Linked DNA regions of Homo sapiens: region 1 is linked to region 2. The links are contacts of gene promoters, found by promoter capture Hi-C in blood cells and fetal thymus (Javierre and others, 2016). All regions are on one chromosome and are shown on one strand. Each heading gives the region's core, a stretch centred on a gene start or on the middle of the fragment in contact. The rest is flanking DNA. Distances are from core to core; before and after follow the strand shown. Region 1 overlaps SPEF2 (sperm flagellar 2). Region 2 holds the start of CAPSL (calcyphosine like).

Evidence for each region. Contacts are between HindIII fragments. The CHiCAGO score rates a contact against its expected background, and 5 or more counts as called.
Region 1: a contact is called between a fragment that was not itself captured here and the fragment with the promoter of CAPSL in region 2, in 11 of 17 cell types (naive CD4 T cells, activated CD4 T cells, total CD8 T cells and 8 more). The highest score is 15.8, in naive CD4 T cells.

The regions. Positions count from the first base shown.
Region 1 is chr5:35,636,343-35,642,433 of GRCh38, forward strand. SPEF2 (sperm flagellar 2) reads left to right here. Exons shown (of 37, transcript NM_024867.4): 3 at 5,089-5,341. Among named protein-coding and RNA genes, the nearest start is that of SPEF2, 22 kb to the left of the region's middle. The HindIII fragment of the contact is 1,579 bases long and covers 2,077-3,655 here.
Region 2 is chr5:35,934,678-35,940,991 of GRCh38, forward strand. CAPSL (calcyphosine like) reads right to left here and starts at 3,945. Exons shown (of 5, transcript NM_001042625.2): 1 at 3,864-3,945. CAPSL-DT (CAPSL divergent transcript) reads left to right here and starts at 4,124. Exons shown (of 2, transcript NR_104630.1): 1 at 4,124-4,247; 2 at 5,046-5,316. The HindIII fragment of the contact is 5,426 bases long and covers 1-4,314 here.

The sequences.
Region 1 (6,091 bases), core at 1,616-4,115, 300 kb before region 2:
CTTCCTGCTTGTGCAACATCTCAAAGTCAGCCAAAGGTGAGAGATTTGGACCTCCTCATGTCTTTCCTAGGCATCCATACATTCCTACACATGCATATGGCCTCAGAGTCCCTAACAGACATCTCATTCCTAGGTCTTCCTTTTAAGTTTTTGGCCAGGCTCTTCTTTGCTCCAGCTGGTTTTACTGTCTCAGGTAACTGTGATTATAAATAATTGCTATGATTGTTTTTTCCTAACACCCTTGGGATAGGACTTTTTTCAGTGAGTAAGCTCTATCAGGTCAAATAATGACAAGGCCTGAAAATGGGGATTTTCACAACACTACTGGGTAGTCAAATAGTAATACTCTGGGCCGGGTGTGGTGGCTAATGCCTGTAATCCCAACACTTTGGGAGGCCAAGGTGGGTGGATCACCTGAGGTCAAGAGTTTGAGATGAGCCTGGCCAACATGGTGAAACCCCATCTCTGCTAAAAATACAAAAAATTAGCTGGGTATGGTGGTGGGCACCTGTATTCCCAGCTACTCAGGAGGCTGAGGCAGGAGAATCGCTTGAACCTGGGAGATGGAGGTTGCAATGAGCTAAGATTGCGCCGTTGCACTCCAGCCTGGGTGACAGAGTGAGACTCTGTCTCAAAAAAAAAAAAAAAAGAAAAAAGAAAAGAAAAGAAAAGCAACACTCTGAAGACAGGACTTTGGAGGCGCTTCAAATCTGTTTGTCTGCTTTGATGACTGCTAAACTGCTGGTTTTTATAGCTGCCATGGTTGTAAGTCTGCTGCCGGTTTTCATAGCCACCATGGAGCTAGGGAGTGAGGTATGGACATGGAGCAAACTAAAATGACAAAAAGCTCTCTTTTCCTACCACTATTAAGCAGCTTTTCTTAAATAAATGCTCCTTGAGTTGTTACAAGCCTTTAGCTAATTTCCAGAGTTATGAAAAGGTTGATTTTTACAATTTTTATGAGTGTTATTGTTGCCTTTAAGGAGGAACCGATTTTTGGAGGTTCTCACTCTGCCATTTACGAAGATGTACTTCAAATTCATAATATTTTAACCTGATACTTCCTGCTTAAGTACTTCTTATTTTTGTTTGTCTGAAATGATAGGCCTTTATGAAGCTGCACCTGTGTTATAAGACTTCTGAGCAAAAGAACCTCTGATATTTCCATGCTAGAGGTGAATTATTCTTTCATAATCCAGATTATCCTAGTTGTACATATAGCAACTGTATGACACAAAAGAAGCCATGGATTAGAACTACACTGTCATACCAAATAAACCCTTTTTTGCTAATCCCATCTAATTTCTTGAGCTTCTGGTGTACAGGGTAACATCCTAACCCATACCTACATCTCATATCACACATCTCTTCCTCAAGTACATGGCATATAAATTCGTTGTTAGCCCCAGCTGCCCCCTCTTCCTGACCTCTCAGCCCTTCGCTCCCTCTGTACCTAGCCTTGCTGCCACCATTAGAAGCTGGATTACCCTCCAAGGTATAAGAATGCCAGGGTAGGTAGGTCAGTGTCCATGCCCTCATTTTCTTTTTTGTGATTTCTCAGGAGTTCTTATACATATAGATTGATGTGTTATGACTTGCACGTAACCAGATGTCCAATCCTTTTGTTGTTGTTGCTGTCTATCCCTTTATGAAAGTGAGAAACTCAGCCTACACATTTAATTTTTATAACACTGATCACTTTGTTGTCAGTTTCTTTATCTGTGTTTCACATTGCACAGAACACCATGAGGTTAGGGGTATTAGGTTATTTTTCTTTATATCTCTAGGGCTTAACATAGGCCTGGTGCATATTTAGCTTTCAGTCAATGTTTTTTAAATTAATGAATGTCTACATTTCCTAGTAAATTCTACAGATAAAGACCTTGTTTAGACTTCCCAACATGAAGCTAAAACTCTACACTCATATCTCTAGGTATGATATCCCCATCAGCTTAAGAAATTCAAGTGTTCCAGTCTCTCTGTTGCTCTCAAGGTCATGGCTTATAAGGTGCTTCTCGGTGTGACCCTCATTTACCTTTCCAGCCACATTTCCCATCAACGGAGAATCCTAACCAAAGCTTCTGTGGTCCACATACACATCGTATGTTTTTGTTATGCCTTGCACCTTTGCAAATTAATGTTATTTTTTCACTTCTACCATGAGAAACTTGTATTTATTCTGAAATGCCAGCTAAAAATCTACTCCTTCTCTAAACTCTTCTTTTACTTTCTTAGTAGATTTAGTCTCCCTTTTCTCTTTGTTCTAATAAAACTTTGGACATCCCTTTCCTTATTACATTATCATTATCAAGTTATAATTATTTATTTATGTATCAGTTCTTATCAGAGTGCCTGCCACATGAAGGAGCCCAAACAACGTTTAATGAATGATAAATGAATGTTTACTCCTCAACTAGATTGTGAAGATCCTGAAAGTTGCAGCGTGTGTTTATTCTTTGTGCTCCAAGCATTGTCCTGGTCCATAGTAGGCTCATAATATTGTTTCCAATGAATAAATGAGGGATATCAGGGAGTATATCTGCTTAACCATGGAAAAGTTAAAGGACCATCCTGACCAGATCGCAGATGAGTGTTTCAGGTGTACCAAAGTGGCTCTTATTGGCAGGACCACAGAGGGCCTTTTGTGAAATGGAAAAAGGGTCCCCATCTGGCTGGAAATGACTGTAAAAATGCAGGCCTTCGTGAACACAAAGGCCTTTTTACAAGGAAAAAGGAGCCCCATTTTGGATGAAGCAGTCTCATGCCAGGGACAAGGCTTAACAATCTGAACAGAGGGTAGATTTCATACTCTTGTTCCACCTTTGGATAGATGTGTGTCCTTTGTAACAGCCCTGCTTGTCATATACTACAAAGGACTAACTTTCTCTCTCACCACGAGTCATTGCATTCCCTAATGTGGGAAGAGGGTCCTACTTGTATTGAGAACCAAATATCATCCATCTTCAATTCTTGGAACAGCCCATTTTTTCCCCAGGGCACATGGTCTTTTAAATAAGACAAGGATCAGTAAATTTTATGGGCATAACCTTTGTAATGGTATATTTGGTAGGGAAAATAATCCCTTTTTTGTCATAGCCTAATTTTTAGGCAACTGGTGCCAGGGCTCATGATTTGGGGATCTTATCTAACACTTTTAGTTTCTTTAGTTTAAAATGTAAACTGGAAATATATTTTGTAAATAACTTAAAGTTATTCATCTTGGAAATAATTTAATTCTAAGAATACTCATCTAACTCTGAAAGAATTCCCTGATTTTGAATATTTTTATTCCTTCACAAATAGTGAAAATTGAGAAGATTTGTTTTTTTTTTTTAAAGTAAATAGTCAAGACAATTTCTCGGAGGGCAGCTACTACTTACCTGTAAGAAGAGGTATTCCCTCACCAGATGGCAAGAAGGGAAGGAGATAGGTAGTCTCTTAGCAAGCAAGGACTGCTGGTAGAGAGGTCCCTCAGAGGTCATCATTTACCTCATATGCTCTGTCTCCAGAGCAAAGATGTCCCAGTGGTTTTTCTGTGTTCAAAAAACAACTGTTGATTATCCTATCATTCTGATTCTACCCATGCTTTAACAAGAGTAGGCTTCCACCAATTTACACACAAGTTCTGTTCCCCAAATTTGATTGATTAGAAATAAGCTTCCAAAGAGAAGTATTGTTAGACCTGTGTACTTTGGCCAGTTCATAAAATACATTTAAACCCTAGTAGGTAACTGAAGTATAACATTAACAGGCTTATTAACTGCATTCTGGGAGCCACATGATACAATTGAGAGAAAGAGAAAACTCTTCTCTCTTTTTCTTGAGTGCAGGGCTAAGCTTTGACAAAATTTGGAAATGGGTAATGTTTGCTTTTGGACTCTCCCTCCTGAATTAACATGCCCCTAAAATCTGTAGCCCAAGGTTATAACCCAGACCAAAGCTCTGACAGATGGCTCTCAGTTCACATCTTTCCAATTATGTGTAGTGAGCAAAGCACACAGGACTCCTAAAATGGGAAGGGCATGAAAGGACGACTGTGATGGAAGATCAAAAGGGGTGATAGATGCCTTTCTAGAGAATGGAAGCACATGTCATTGATTTGACTATCTTCTTTCACAATCATATTCCTCAAAACATGGTCTGCTTTACCTGAGTCATTTTAGACAAATGTTGTATCTCCAACTGTACGATGATTTGTGGAGAAACAGATTGCAAAACTGGACCTGAGAAGACCTTTAAAAAAGTATATTTAGTCTCATGCTGAGAAGGTTTTCTTGTAGCATGCATTATCTCTTCTCGTCTCCTCCAAGGCCTTTTTCTCTTTTATTAATTTAAAATATTTTATTTGAAGTTTGATTGATGCCGCATAATACACTAAATATATCTTGCTAAATATTTATGTTAAAAGAGTTACTAGTACACAGAGGAAACAGGACAGTAAGTTACACCACATGATCAGAACATGAATTCAAGATATTGCATCACTATTTTTGTTGACATTGGCCATCTCATGGTGCTGGCTCCTCATTTATATTTAGAAATCACTCTTATATTTCCTGAGCGCCACATCTTTTTGGAAGATGGGTGCTTTTAGGTTAGACTGTAAGAGGCTCAAAAACATGCTATATGATGTTATACACGCTTTGTCTGTATGTATAAATGTATGTTTCCTTTTCTGTAAAAAAGTTCCATAGCTGTCAGATTTTCAAAGGTATCTGTGATTCAAAAACAAAAGATTTAGAGCCACTACCTGAATGCAATCTCTTGAGAAATAGTATACTAGGAACAGTATATCAAGTTTAGGTGTTGTGACTTCTGTATTTACTTCTGAAGAAATCCTATTGTCAATTTAGAGCAGAAAAATTTTAGTGTAGCCATTTAAAAGAAATGAATGCATAGAGTTCAGGTAGACATGGTCAATAAAAAAATCTCAATGTAGTTACATTAGAGTGGTTTTAGAGAGGAATGATACAGCTAAAAGGACATGAAATAATTCAAAATATTGGATAATGATAATATGTCTGATATTTGTTGTTTGTCTTTAATTTAATGCTAATGTCTAATTATGTAAAATATTTTACTGTCCAGGGTTTCAAGTGCCAAACTTAATAATTTTTCTCGCTTGGAGCCAACACTTAACCTTCTGGGTGTGCAGTTTGATCAGAATGTGGCCCATGGCATCATCACAGAAAAGCCTGGGGTGGCAACAAAGCTGTTATATCAATTGTACATTGCTCTTCAGAAAAAGAAGAAAAGTGGACTGACTGGAGTGGAGATGCAAACCATGCAACGTCTGACAAATTTAAGACTTCAAAACATGAAAAGTGATACTTTTCAAGAGGTAGGTACATAAAAAAGCATAATAAGCATGTCACAGTGTAAAATTTGATAAAGAGAAATGACAATGATATTGAATTCTCAAAGAAGCCTCATTAGGCATATATATCCTTTATGTATGTTACTGGCCATACTTGGGTTTTATTTTATATTAATAATTTGAATTTATTTAGCCATTTTTGATGTCTCTCTCTATCCTATCCATATTGCCAATAGCTTATCAAACTCTTTTCCTAGTTTCCAGTACTTTTTGTTGTTGTTGTTTTAGAGAGACAGGGCCTTGCTCTTTTGCCCATGCTGGTCTCAAACTCCTGAGCTCAAGCAGTCCTCTGCCTCAGCATCCCAAGTAGCTGGGACTACAGGCCTAATACTTTTTGTGCCTGCTCCTCTCTTCCTGTTTCTACCCCATCATATCTGCTCAGATCTTCTTATCAACTACTGCAGCAACCTGCTAAAATGTCTCTCAATCTTCTGGATAAGTCAATCAACTGCTAAATGAATCTTCCCTAAATTTTACTTTTATTGAGTTCTTCTGCTCAGAAACCTATTTTTACTTCTTTCTAGTCCTCAGCATGGTATTTCTTTCTTCTATGTTAATTGACAGTCTGTCCTTAAATATGACTGTCTATTCCTGCTCTTCCTTCCCTCAAACCCAAACTCACCCTTCTCATCTCTCCTCTTCCCCAAACTGTTCTTCATCTACCGTGCAGCCCAGTACACACGGGTAGTCCCAGTTCTTCCTTTGGAACTCTAG
Region 2 (6,314 bases), core at 2,695-5,194:
GAGATATGAAAACCACTCCTCCTTTTGCCCCTTTAAGGCTATGGGTAACACCTTTCTTGTCCCTTCTGACTGTGGCATTGCTGGGTGTCTCATTATGCTTTCTCTATATTCCTTATTCCTACCCACACTTCTGTGAATTGTCCTTCATTAAACTCTTTTCTGTTACTACCTTTGAATGTGCCATCAATTTCCTGCCAAGACACTGATTGGTACAATATCTTTATCCTGGATGGTATCTGATTTTGCATAAGGAAACCTACCCCTCTTGCAGTCTTCTCAGATGAAAGCACCTCTTACCCCAAATTCTAAGTATTAAGGAACCTCACAGATTTTAAGATGCACCCTGTCACCTCCACATCATGACCTATATCCACATCCTTCTTTGAAGCACAGCCTAGCTGGACAAACTTCCTATGTTTCTCTTTGGTTCTGTCAGTTTATAAATCACTGACACTCTGAATGTTGCCTCAGAGATGTACTCTCCATTTCAAGTGGTGTCATCAATCTGGGAAAACCCAGAGCTCATCTAGACAATCCATCCAACAGGCAGCTATGAAGTTCCTGGAGCTCCTTGATTTCTACCAACTCAACTCCATCTGTTTGTTGTCTCGGCATTCCCTCCCAACCAAATCTGGTCTCCTCTGAAAGTCCAAACTTCTTTTTTTTTTTTTCTGAGACAGGGTCTCACTCTGTTGCCCAGGCTGGAGCGCAGTGGTGTCATCATAGCTCACTGCAGCCTCAATCTCCTGGGCACAAGTGATCCTCCCACCGAAACCTCCCGAGTAGCTAGGACTACAGGTGCACACCACAATACCCAACTAATTTTTTCTTATTTTTAGTAGAGACAGGATCTTGCTATGTTGCCCAGGCTGGTCTTGAACTCCTAAGCTCAAGCAATCCTCCCACCTTGGCCTTCCAAAATGCTGAGATTACAGACATGAGCCACGGTGCCCAGACTGAAAGTTCAAAATTCAAGATTGACTTTATCTGCAGTGTTCAGTTCCATTATTCCAACTTGCTTCTGACCTTATGGTACCTCCAGACTTTTGGCCCTACATTTTCACCCCAGCCATTACCTACCTCATTCTCCCTTCTGGATCTACTTCCTTTCTTATCCATTTTACACACTCTGCGCATCTTTCTGACCATCTGGTACCAGTGCCTCCCTTCTTGACCCTCATTTTTCAACCTCCCACCATCTCAGAATAATAGCTAACTTGGTTCAATTTGCCCATGTTCCATGTACTTAACGGCAGACTGAAGTGCAGCTGAATAAACCCACATGCCAGCATGGACAGGTGTCACTGTATTTATTCTTTAACCACAGCTAGGCCTTCTGCAACACACAACTCAACTTTTATATGATGTTGGTCAGGTTCTTATTCCAGTCTCCTCAGAGGCTAATCCAAACTTTTGCCACTCCAGACCTTGCCTTGAAAGACCCAGAAAAAAATGGAACCACCAGTTATGAACAAATTCACATCATCCTCCTCCAAATCTATAAAAGTATAGCGCTCTAAGGGCATCCTGACTTCATCCTCCCTCCTCCCTCCTCCAAGAGATTGCTGAACTTCCTCCCATCTAAGGATGCCCTCTCTACCTGCAACACAGAGGCCTACCCCTCTAAGATTCTCAGCCATCAGTTATGCCCTTTTCCTCCTCTCCAGCAGCTCCTTCTTTTAGTTCATGAATCCGCTGTGGTCCCTCAGTCCTGGACTCCCTCTAGCTATCACCCCTCAAAGTCAAACTATTTTAAAGAATTTCCAGATTTTCTACTTTCTCATGCCCCATTCATACTTCGGTCCATTTCAATATGGTCTTCACCCTGTCATTCCAACAAATATACTCTTCAATAAGTCATTGCTAACCTGATTGCCAACTTCAACAGTCATTAGCCCTTAGTTCACTTCTCCAACTAGTTGACTATTGGTCATTCTTCCTTTTTAACACCCTTTCTCTCAATGGCTATAAATCTAACTCCCTGTCTCTCCTCCTCCCTCTTGGATCTGTCCTATTTTGTTTCTTCCTTGTCTTCACCTGCTTCTTAAGTGCTGTTTCTCAGGCTTCAGTTATCTTTCTCTTCTCACTATTCCACTATCTTATGGCAATCTCAGTCATATCCCCTGATACAATGATGACTAACAAATCTTTATTCCAATGTAGGCACTCTCTGGAGCCAGATTTCTCACAAAACATGTGCACTTGGATGACCTACAGACACTTTCAGTTTAATGTTCCAGAGCCAAATTCATTACCTATCTTCCTTACTCTTTGCTTCAGGAAACAGCAATACCATTTACCTGGGTCATTAACTGACCATTATCCTAGACTCTTCCTAACCCTTTACATCCAAATAGCAGCTAAGTCCTATAGAGTTTCACTACCTTGACACATCCCGCATTTCCATTCCCTCATCTCCATTGCCATGGATACTGACTCAGCCTAGGACATGGTCACTTCTCATTTCCACCATTGCAAATGTCTCCTAGTTGGTTTCCTGCCCCTAGCTTTGCCCTCTGTACTTTGTCTTTCAAAAGACTGAGCAATCTTTAGAAAATGAAAACATGAACTTCATGATATAGTTTAAGACCCTTTGATGGTCCCCCATTGCATACAGGTAAAATGAAAGTTCTTAGCATTGAATTCATGCATTGGCCTTTCCTATGTCTCCAGCCATTTCTAGTAATTCTCCATCCGTTCAAAATCTATCCTGCATCTCTACTCACTCACATTCCCCAAACACACCATAGCATTCTGTATCTCTGTGCCTTTGTACATGTAGTCACACTTGCAGGTACACCTTCTTTTTCCTGTTGGCCCAGAGAAGTCCCACCCATCCTTCCATGATCATGTGGTGAAGTCCAAATAGCATTCACATTGCAAGACAATGTAATTCGTTTTCGAATTACTTGCCCTGCTAGACAGACTATAAGGTCCTTACGAGGTAGAGCTGTATCCTTTGCATTTACTATCACCATATCATCAGGGCTTAGCAGGAGGCTATTTTATTGCTATTAGAATTTATCATTGTCATTGCTATTGGGTAATTTTTATCAGAATATAAATACAAATGTATGCCTGAAATTCAAATCTCAATATTTAAAACTTTCAATAACAAAATAGATTTTTGTGGTTGTAGGATTTGAGGAAAAAATAAGTCAAAAAAAAAAAACAGGTAAGAATTTCATCTACTTAATATGGTTTAAATACTCCCCAGACTGAAGGCAATAGAGATGGCTGCCTGGGTCATTGGTGTTGTCCTTTAATGAGAACGTAAAGGACCCCCTCAAGTCTCTGATGAATCAAATCAACTATTTGATATAATTTTGAACAAGCCATGTATGTACACTTTAATAAGCATCCTGATTTTTATTCTGATTCTCAGTTGTCAGTGTATAGCAGAAATAGCATAAGTTTAAGTATCAGACAAAGCAAGGTCTGAATGAAAGTTGAAATGTTTTATTGCTTTGTGACTTGGAAATGCTGAACCTCCCTGAAGCTCAGTTTTATCAGTGGTCATCAGGATCGTTAGAGCAATTCACCCAAACCCTTCACACTCAAATACCTAGTACCTAATGACTGCTCAGTAATGTTTACTTCCTTCCCCTTTACTGAATGAAATTTATTTTTGTGCATTTTTATCTAAGCATTTTTTTTGCAAAGATTACAAAAATCTTTCCCAGTACCAAGCTCTTTCCTCTTGCACTGACAGCCTAGTGATGGCTTCTCTAGTCCAAGAACTCTCAAAAGACTTTTAGATTTTCTTTTTAGAGAGTAACATCTACTGTCTTCTTTTCTCAGCTAAGACATACCAAGAAAAAAAAAAACATTAAATCATAGAATAGATAAAAACATTGATTTACCTTAAATGCTAACCTTTTGCCACCAGTTGCTTCGAACTGAAACTATGGACGCTGTCTCCTGCATCTAGGAAAACTGGTCCCTCCCAAGCCACCTTAGCCTCCTCCCTCTTACCTGTCTTCCTCAGGGGCCCTGGTCCACTCTCTTAGTATTAATTGGAGGACCTGGGATCACTGCTGCAGATTCACAGCCTGATTGGCTCAGCTCACTGTCAATCTCTACTCTGGTTCTGCCTTTTCTCAAGTTTACACTCCTGTTGCCTAGGAAATCTCAGTGACTGTGAAAGCTCAAGCCATTTGCACTGGGAGAGAAGCCAGCCAGAAGTTTTGCTGGCAATGGTTTGGTTTCTAGAACAGCATCAAAACTTGTCTCCCATGTTTTGTAAGGTAGTATTCAGCACATTGTCTTCTTTCTTTTAGGCAGCACCTTCCTGTCCTTCTGTAGTCCCCAGAAAGCTTACTGCTAGGGTGCCTCATTGCCAGGTGATACTTAAAACCACAACTCTTGGGAGCAGGCAGGGGTAATTATAGGTGATTCAAGGTTCTCCCTCCTTCTCTGCATTTGCAGAGGATGTCATTTCTGCTGTTTTCATCCTTGGTTTCTTCTCTTCTTTTCTCTTTTTGTTTCTTTTTACTTATGTTTTTCACATGTTCCCTAGCAGTTACTTTGCCAGATAAGAAGAAATCTAGTGGCTTATTTGGAGGAAAATATCTACACTATGCTCTCTTTCATTGTGTATCTATGACATCCACCCTATCCTTGTCATTCCCACTCCTGCACGTCCTGCTTTCAGGAGCAGGCAGGTATAATTAGTGGTGATTCAGACCTTACACCTCTCTCTTTCTCTCTCTCTCTCTGACACACACACACACACACACACACACACACACACACACACACACACACATCTCTGTATATAACATAATCCTGGCTGTGTGCAACATCCTTGCAGTATAAGAACTCACAAAACGGAATAGATGCCAGGCACCCAGCTCTGCAGACTACTAGGCAAGTTCTTTCATGGATTTGACAAGGGCTTGGGTCCTTTGCTATATCTGCAGGGAGTATACATAGTAGCTATTTCATCCTTTTATCTGAATTGTCTGAAGAATTGTCCCAGAATTAAGCAATTAGAACTGTGGTTCTTCCAGGGCAACCTCAGATGTCTAATGTTTTCTTTTCAGTGGTTTAACCCACAAGATATCACGCATTTGAAACTTTTAAGAAGAAACTTAATTTCATCTGTGAATGCAGAAGCAAATATGAGGGCATGGGCATTTAAATATGAAGTATTTCTTGAAAGCCACCTACTGGAGAGTAAGTTTGGTGCAATAATTTAAGAAAAGATAAAAAAGAAACAGGAAAATTGGGACAACGGACAGCATGATGGAGCCACCGTGCAAGCCCTCAATAGTCTGCCTCCAGGTTGTGTCAAATAAAGTAAAAAGAACAAAATCTCTGGAGTACTTAAGCAATGCTTTTGCTTGTTTCCACTGCTAGCAACTGGTGTAATTCCAAGGGTTTTACCAGTTCAAAAAACTGGATCTGGGTTTGTGGTATTGGGTTTCTGACAATCAATATAAAATATTGATTATATTTTAAGGCATAAGTACTCTTTCCAGTGGTAAAGAAGACAATGATAGTCTATGGTGTAATACGGTAAAAAGATTTGTAAAATATTACTACTGGATTCCTAATCAAATATTCATAAATGGCAAATCTCTAGGTAATCATGATAGCTTAAAATATTTTAGTCAAACTAATAAATGTAATGAGGATGACTGCTTGTAACTGTGGTAGACAAAGTAAAGAAAAATGATGAACTCAGGGCTTGAAATTCCAAGTTCAAGCTCCACATAAATGATCTGAAACCTTCTATGTCTTCCTGGAGGAACGTACTTATCTCCCATTGTCATCAGCCTGAGGTTTCAGAAAATCAAATCTGGAGTCTCATCCTGAGAGTGGCAGAATTACAGTGCAAATTGAATTCCCAACCAGGCAAAGTATCTTCTGCTAAACTGAGGGAATTGATTAGGAAGGAATGAGATTCTGAAAATCGGAATGAAACCTGTAGGGTAGATCCTGATGAAGCTGAGGACACTTAACCTCTAAATTCTCCTGCATCTTCTTTGCCAGTAGGAGCAACCCTGCTATTCATGTCTGAGAAGGTTCATCCTGATTTTTCAAAGGAAAGTGTACTAGCACCTCTGAGGTATTTTAACTGGAAGACACTGCTGATTATCCTCAGAACCTACTTCCACCAAACCTCTTGGCTTGTAGAACTATATCATCTATATCTATATCTATATCTATATCTATCTATATCTATATCTATCTATATCTATATCTATAAATAAGACTCTAGTCCCAACAGGCTTGAAAGAGAGATTAAAATTGCGAACCAATGGGAGACATACTACATTCCAAAAGTAATGCGTATTTTTTCAATTTAT